2 separate regions of the Homo sapiens genome follow, and region 2 is linked to region 1. Evidence: promoter capture Hi-C in 16 types of primary human blood cells and fetal thymus (Javierre and others, 2016). All regions are on one chromosome and are shown on one strand. Each heading gives the region's core, a stretch centred on a gene start or on the middle of the fragment in contact. The rest is flanking DNA. Distances are from core to core; before and after follow the strand shown. Region 1 holds the start of SNCA (synuclein alpha). Region 2 holds the start of CCSER1 (coiled-coil serine rich protein 1).

Evidence for each region. Contacts are between HindIII fragments. The CHiCAGO score rates a contact against its expected background, and 5 or more counts as called.
Region 2: the fragment with the promoter of CCSER1 here is called in contact with the fragment with the promoter of SNCA in region 1 in 14 of 17 cell types (total B cells, neutrophils, naive B cells and 11 more); the score reaches 15.6 in total B cells.

What each region holds. Positions count from the first base shown.
Region 1 is chr4:89,835,325-89,839,076 of GRCh38, reverse strand. It overlaps SNCA (synuclein alpha), which reads left to right and starts at 1,916. Exons shown (of 6, transcript NM_000345.4): 1 at 1,916-2,115; 2 at 3,385-3,530. The coding sequence starts at 3,410. It overlaps SNCA-AS1 (SNCA antisense RNA 1), which reads right to left and starts at 2,676. Exons shown (of 4, transcript NR_045481.1): 1 at 2,343-2,676; 2 at 671-816. The HindIII fragment of the contact is 7,659 bases long and covers 28-3,752 here.
Region 2 is chr4:90,125,459-90,129,210 of GRCh38, reverse strand. It overlaps CCSER1 (coiled-coil serine rich protein 1), which reads right to left and starts at 1,817. Exons shown (of 11, transcript NM_001145065.2): 1 at 1,380-1,817. RefSeq lists silencers at 700-949, 1,060-1,259. The HindIII fragment of the contact is 6,776 bases long and covers 1-3,483 here.

The DNA.
Region 1 (3,752 bases), core at 667-3,166:
TACAGCTGAAAAGATATATATAAAGCTTGAATTTGGTAAAAAAAAAAAAAAAAGAGGGAGGATTGGTAGTGATAAAGTGAGTGGACTTATGGATGAGACATGATCAGCCATGCATTGAAAAAATGTAAAAGTTGGATGATCTTCACATGAGAGTCCTTTATTCTGTCTACTTTTGCATATGTTTGAATATTTCCCATAACAAAAAGTTGAAAATAGAGTGATCACATGAGTTAATCTCCTAATTTACAAAAAAGAAAACTGGAAACAGAAGGAGAACAAAACTTGTTCAAGGTCTCAAAGCCAGACAGCAAACTAGCTCCCAAGTCCAACCTTCTTGCTCTGGTCCTAAGCAAACAAAAAATATTAATATGAGCTACTGCATTAAGGAAAGTCTGCTTTTCCAAAGGGCAGACCAATAGTTCAAGGAAGAGTTTAAATAATAAATATTTGTGATCTTACTTTCATGCTTTTCTATTTTCCACTGAACACATATGCATTATCTTCTATATGTCTTTTATGTATAATCATTTGCTTCCTGTTCCTTGTGGTTTTAAAGTTGTTTTGTATGTTTAAATTTGATTTTACTCAAATTTCAGAACCCAAATTAGCGCAAGAATCAGACAAAGCATAACTTTCTATAAATATAAAAACAATTAAAAAAAAAACATACAGCAAAAACGAGTTGTTGTTTCCCCCCTCCTCTTCCAGTGCTTAACTAATCTTCCGAATCCAGGCACAGAAAGCAAAGGCTTTCTGCTAGTGGGAGGAGCTTGCTTCTCCATTCTGGTGTGATCCAGGAACAGCTGTCTTCCAGCTCTGAAAGAGGTGAAAATGTGTTAAGCGATGCAAAAATTGTCTTGAAGTTCGCGTGTGTATGTCTGTGTGCATGTGCGTGTGGTGGGTGGGGGGAGAGAAAAGGGGGTGTCAATTCTGAGGGCAACGAGAATCAGAAGTCAGAAAGGTGAGTGGTGTGTAGCATCTCCCTTTCAGAAGGGGCTGAAGAAGAAATTGGATATGATGGTCCGGTAGGCTAAATCACGCTGGATTTGTCTCCCAGATAAAGGGAGGTCTGCAAAGTAAGTCCCATTTCTAGAGCGAAAAGCCTTAGGACCGCTTGTTTTAGACGGCTGGGGAATATTTATTCCTTGTTCCACTGATGGGAAAATCAGCGTCTGGCAGGCGCTGATTGGTGGAAAGGAAAATGGTGATAGTGGCGTGGAAAGAGGATTTGCTGAGCCTTCTCCTGCCTCCTCAACCTGTGACTCTTCCTTAGTAGTCTCCCTTTCACCCTCAGGACCCTTTCCGGCTCTTCCTAGATTAAGAGCAAACGAAAACCTTGAAGATATTTGAACTAAAGCGACCCCTAACGTTGTAACCTGTGACCGTGATTAAATTTCAGCGATGCGAGGGCAAAGCGCTCTCGGCGGTGCGGTGTGAGCCACCTCCCGGCGCTGCCTGTCTCCTCCAGCAGCTCCCCAAGGGATAGGCTCTGCCCTTGGTGGTCGACCCTCAGGCCCTCGGCTCTCCCAGGGCGACTCTGACGAGGGGTAGGGGGTGGTCCCCGGGAGGACCCAGAGGAAAGGCGGGGACAAGAAGGGAGGGGAAGGGGAAAGAGGAAGAGGCATCATCCCTAGCCCAACCGCTCCCGATCTCCACAAGAGTGCTCGTGACCCTAAACTTAACGTGAGGCGCAAAAGCGCCCCCACTTTCCCGCCTTGCGCGGCCAGGCAGGCGGCTGGAGTTGATGGCTCACCCCGCGCCCCCTGCCCCATCCCCATCCGAGATAGGGACGAGGAGCACGCTGCAGGGAAAGCAGCGAGCGCCGGGAGAGGGGCGGGCAGAAGCGCTGACAAATCAGCGGTGGGGGCGGAGAGCCGAGGAGAAGGAGAAGGAGGAGGACTAGGAGGAGGAGGACGGCGACGACCAGAAGGGGCCCAAGAGAGGGGGCGAGCGACCGAGCGCCGCGACGCGGAAGTGAGGTGCGTGCGGGCTGCAGCGCAGACCCCGGCCCGGCCCCTCCGAGAGCGTCCTGGGCGCTCCCTCACGCCTTGCCTTCAAGCCTTCTGCCTTTCCACCCTCGTGAGCGGAGAACTGGGAGTGGCCATTCGACGACAGGTTAGCGGGTTTGCCTCCCACTCCCCCAGCCTCGCGTCGCCGGCTCACAGCGGCCTCCTCTGGGGACAGTCCCCCCCGGGTGCCGCCTCCGCCCTTCCTGTGCGCTCCTTTTCCTTCTTCTTTCCTATTAAATATTATTTGGGAATTGTTTAAATTTTTTTTTTAAAAAAAGAGAGAGGCGGGGAGGAGTCGGAGTTGTGGAGAAGCAGAGGGACTCAGGTAAGTACCTGTGGATCTAAACGGGCGTCTTTGGAAATCCTGGAGAACGCCGGATGGGAGACGAATGGTCGTGGGCACCGGGAGGGGGTGGTGCTGCCATGAGGACCCGCTGGGCCAGGTCTCTGGGAGGTGAGTACTTGTCCCTTTGGGGAGCCTAAGGAAAGAGACTTGACCTGGCTTTCGTCCTGCTTCTGATATTCCCTTCTCCACAAGGGCTGAGAGATTAGGCTGCTTCTCCGGGATCCGCTTTTCCCCGGGAAACGCGAGGATGCTCCATGGAGCGTGAGCATCCAACTTTTCTCTCACATAAAATCTGTCTGCCCGCTCTCTTGGTTTTTCTCTGTAAAGTAAGCAAGCTGCGTTTGGCAAATAATGAAATGGAAGTGCAAGGAGGCCAAGTCAACAGGTGGTAACGGGTTAACAAGTGCTGGCGCGGGGTCCGCTAGGGTGGAGGCTGAGAACGCCCCCTCGGGTGGCTGGCGCGGGGTTGGAGACGGCCCGCGAGTGTGAGCGGCGCCTGCTCAGGGTAGATAGCTGAGGGCGGGGGTGGATGTTGGATGGATTAGAACCATCACACTTGGGCCTGCTGTTTGCCTGAGTTTGAACCACACCCCGAGTGAGCAGTTAGTTCTGTTGCCTACGCCTTTCCACCATCAACCTGTTAGCCTTCTTCTGGGATTCATGTTAAGGATACCCCTGACCCTAAGCCTCCAGCTTCCATGCTTCTAACTCATACTGTTACCCTTTAGACCCCGGGAATTTAAAAAAGGGGTTAATCTTTTCATGCAACTCCACTTCTGAAATGCAGTAATAACAACTCAGAGGATTCATCCTAATCCGTGGTTAGGTGGCTAGACTTTTACTAGCCAAGATGGATGGGAGATGCTAAATTTTTAATGCCAGAGCTAAAAATGTCTGCTTTGTCCAATGGTTAAATGAGTGTACACTTAAAAGAGTCTCACACTTTGGAGGGTTTCTCATGATTTTTCAGTGTTTTTTGTTTATTTTTCCCCGAAAGTTCTCATTCAAAGTGTATTTTATGTTTTCCAGTGTGGTGTAAAGGAATTCATTAGCCATGGATGTATTCATGAAAGGACTTTCAAAGGCCAAGGAGGGAGTTGTGGCTGCTGCTGAGAAAACCAAACAGGGTGTGGCAGAAGCAGCAGGAAAGACAAAAGAGGGTGTTCTCTATGTAGGTAGGTAAACCCCAAATGTCAGTTTGGTGCTTGTTCATGAGTGATGGGTTAGGATAATCAATACTCTAAATGCTGGTAGTTCTCTCTCTTGATTCATTTTTGCATCATTGCTTGTCAAAAAGGTGGACTGAGTCAGAGGTATGTGTAGGTAGGTGAATGTGAACGTGTGTATTTGAGCTAATAGTAAAAAATGCGACTGTTTGCTTTTCCAGATTTTTAATT
Region 2 (3,752 bases), core at 568-3,067, 290 kb before region 1:
CTGTTAATAAAACCAGCTTTACTTTAAACGTGTACACATTATTTTTAATAGTCCTTGAGGGGCAGAGAAGGGAGGATGTGTGTTACATTTCAATAGGAAGGTATTCAACTGTAAAGATTTCAGAAATGAAAGCTGTTGAAACCAAGTAGGTATTTTCTGACTTGTAAGTCCTACTGACTGCCTGAAAAGGTAAGAGGGGTGGAGAAGAGGACATAAAAACATTAAAGGGCAAAGAATCTGTAACTTCTAAGAAGTATTTTTTTCTACCTGTAAAAATATGAGTTTTTTTTTTACTTCATTTCATATTCCATGTCCCACGAGAGGAAGGGGAAGCATAATTGCTTCTAATTCTGAGGCAGGGAGAGGAGAGAGAGAGAGAGAGAAAGAGAGCAGTTCAGGATACACTAAAAGGAAACCCCAAGAAATTTCACAACTCTTTGCCATAAATAGCCTTTCTTCTCACTCTGGATACCTCCTCCTTTACATCAGCAAGGCTCAGCCTCCACGCACGCAGAAGCACCATTCACAAATCCCTCCGTCACCCTTACCCCTTGCTGGCACCGTGTGTACGAGTCCCTGGGACACAAGCCAAAAGTCGAAGGGGCCAGGGGGCCACATGCGGTTTCAGCTTACGGCTGACTTTCTGCTCAGGTGAACCAACCCACTGGTTAGTCCAGAGCGCGCGCGCGCGCGCACACACACACACACACACACACGCACACAACCTGGGGCCCTTGACGCTCCACCACAAAGCAAGTGGTTCAATCTAAGTCGCTGCCGTTACTGCTGCCTCTGGGCAGGGTCTTGCTTCCAATCCAGGAAACTGGCGCCAGAGGACAAGCAGGCGGAGGCAAGAGGTGGTCCCGGCCCCGCACTGCGGTTCCTCCGGGAGCCCCTGGCTCCCCGCCCCCTCCTCCCCTTCCCCCTCTTCGCCGCCGTCCCCGCCTCAGCACCCGCAGCCCGGGGCGCCAGCGCTGACCGGTCGCCTCTACCTGCGGGACGCGAGTGGCGAGGAAGGGGAGCGACCCGAAGCCTGCGCCAACTCTCGCCGCCTTGGCCAGCGCTCCGCATCGCCCTGGAGCGGCCGCCGCGGCCGCAGGCAGCAAACCACGCAGCAGCGTGGAGGAAATGGCCACGCGGCGCACTGGGAGTCGCGGGCCGGTGGTGAGCGAGCCCGCCCGCCTCCTTCCCACCCCGCCCGCAAGGCCAGGTCTCTGCGCCGAGCACGCCGGGCCTGGGCGCGCGCTGCTCGCAGGCGGCCCCGACACGGCGCGGTCACCTGCCGAGCGGTCATCCCCGCGTCCGCCTGCGGCCGGCCCCGCAAAGCGGCGACGCGACGCGCGACCCGCTGAGCGCTGAGGCACCAGGGGCGTTACTACCTTGAGGGCTCCGTGCGCTTGTTAAGGCTCCTCCCGGGCACTCAGGGATTTATGTCTTCGGGGCACGGGGGTGTCCTTCCTGGTCCCCCTCCTCTGCCCTCCCTCCCCTTCTCGGCTGTTGGGCTCCTCTCCACTCCCAGTTGCACAGAGTCCAGCTGCGTTATTTAATAATCCTCCTGCTCCTCCTGCCTGCGCCAGCGGAGCTGCTCTGCCCGAGCCACCGCTTCCCAGTCAGTCATGTTGAGACAGAGAGAGAGAGAGAGGAGAGGCGGATTGGCAGTAGGTCGGCGACTATTTGTGGTGAGGGAGAGAAGAGCAGAGCAAGAGGAGGGCAGGGGAGGGACGTGGGGAGGCGCTTCCAAGTGTGTGAGTGCGCGGAGTGTGACTGTGTGGGGAGCGCGAGATCCACCTCCCCGGCAGGCCGCGCTCCGGGGCTGTGAGGAGGGCGGGCCCAAGCGCGGCCTTTATACAAGGAGGAGTGTGGTGGGCTGGGCGGGGCGGCTTGGAGGGCGGTGCCCGGCCCACTGCGTCCGCCGGATTCCACGCACGCATCCTCTGGCATCGACGCGCGCACACCCACTGCTGGCCCGCTGCTGAGTTTTCATTTTAGGGGAAGCAGTATCCCACCGTGCTGACCTGGCCTTTTCCCCCAGTCCATCCTAGTGCTTATGTGGAGTTCAAGTGCATAGGCAGGTCAAGACTAAAGAATAGGGGAAGTCTGAAGAGACGTGAAGTGACTGCGGGGATGCTGGAAATAAATGCACTGTATTTCTCCTCTCCAAGGTTCCGATGTTATCTTTTTTCTCTTCCTCCTGTAAGGGAAGGAATTACCAGATTCTTTCGCCGCTTTTCCTTCTCACCCACACAATTCACATCCTGACAAGTGTCTTCATTCCTCAGTAACAAGAAAAGAAACCTAGCTTCTTTCCTTTAAGCAGGTCACACCTCCCAGGAACCATTTGCAGCAATCAATTCTGTAAGATAATGCAAGCACTGCGACTGTGTCCGAGAGTGGAACTTGTGTTCCTACAAGGAAGGCCCTACACAATACAGGCATTACAAGAGAATCAGCTCAATTTGACATCATTTGACTGATGGTCCCCTGGAGAAAATTTGCCAGTTTAGAAATCGAAAAGACTTTTGATGCATGGTTCTGTTGCCTACATAATTTATTTTCCCCTGATCCTCTCTCCCCTTGCACTGCCTCATTTCCTTTCAGGTTTACACTAAGTACTGAACTCTTTCCCATCCATCCCCTTCTTTATCTCCACTCCAGTATATTTATGCCTTTAGCAGGCAATACAGCAAATGTAGTGCATTTAATTCTGTGTGTGTGTGTGTGTGTGTGTGCGCGCGCGCATCTGTTTTTAACCCATTCTGGTAGAATGTAGGACCATTTCTAGGTAGAAAATGCATCCCCAATATTAAGTTTGTACGCCTAACATCACCTCCCTTACCTTCTGCCCAGATTACAAGATGTTGTGATCAGGTGCACTGAGGTATTGAGAAAAACTTCCAGAAATCAAGTGATCTACAGTTTTTTCAAGGTGTGTTTGTGTGTGCGCGTGCGCGTGCGCACGCTCTGTGTAATCTAACTGGCTATGATCTAACTTCTGAAATGTGGTTATATTGGGAATAAAAGCAAGATGTATTTTTTAAATGAATCTGAGTGGTCAATGTATATTACAGCATGGGGACAACTCTGCTTTTGGGAGACAATTATAGGAAACATTTTTCATAAATTAGACAAAAGGAAGATAAGATTTAGGAGGCTACGGAGGAGGCGGCAAGGTTGACAATTCAGTTGTCCTATCTTCTTCCATGGCTTGTGACCATCGTACATCTTTAGGGTTTTGTCATATGCTGGCACCTTATATATTCTCCACATATTTTACCCTTTCACATTGATGTTCCTGTCTCGTAATTCTTCAATCTCTCATACAGAGTTTAGCAAACATTAAAAATGATTTAAGCATGTGATCAAGACCTAACAAAGAAGTGATATTAAGGAGTGTGATAAAAACAAAGTGATATTGGAAAGGACAGCAAGTTGGGACAGGTGCGTGAATATATCAATAATATAAGTATATAGGCCATTAAAGCTTCTTTGATTAAGCACTGGAAAAATGAATGGACTAACAAAGCATATTGGGATTGATAGTGTGCCCTATGGGACAGCTATTATTATTTCCTCAATTTTACAGACCAAGAAAGTTAAATTTTGAAAGTGTGTGTAGATAACCTAAGATCATACAAAGAATAAATAATGTCAATGGAACTCAATCTGTCTTATTCTACTGTCCATATCATGTCCCATTCAGAAGGCCTGGCTTACTTAAAAATCTCAGGACTTTCCTTAGAGCTTTTGTTTAT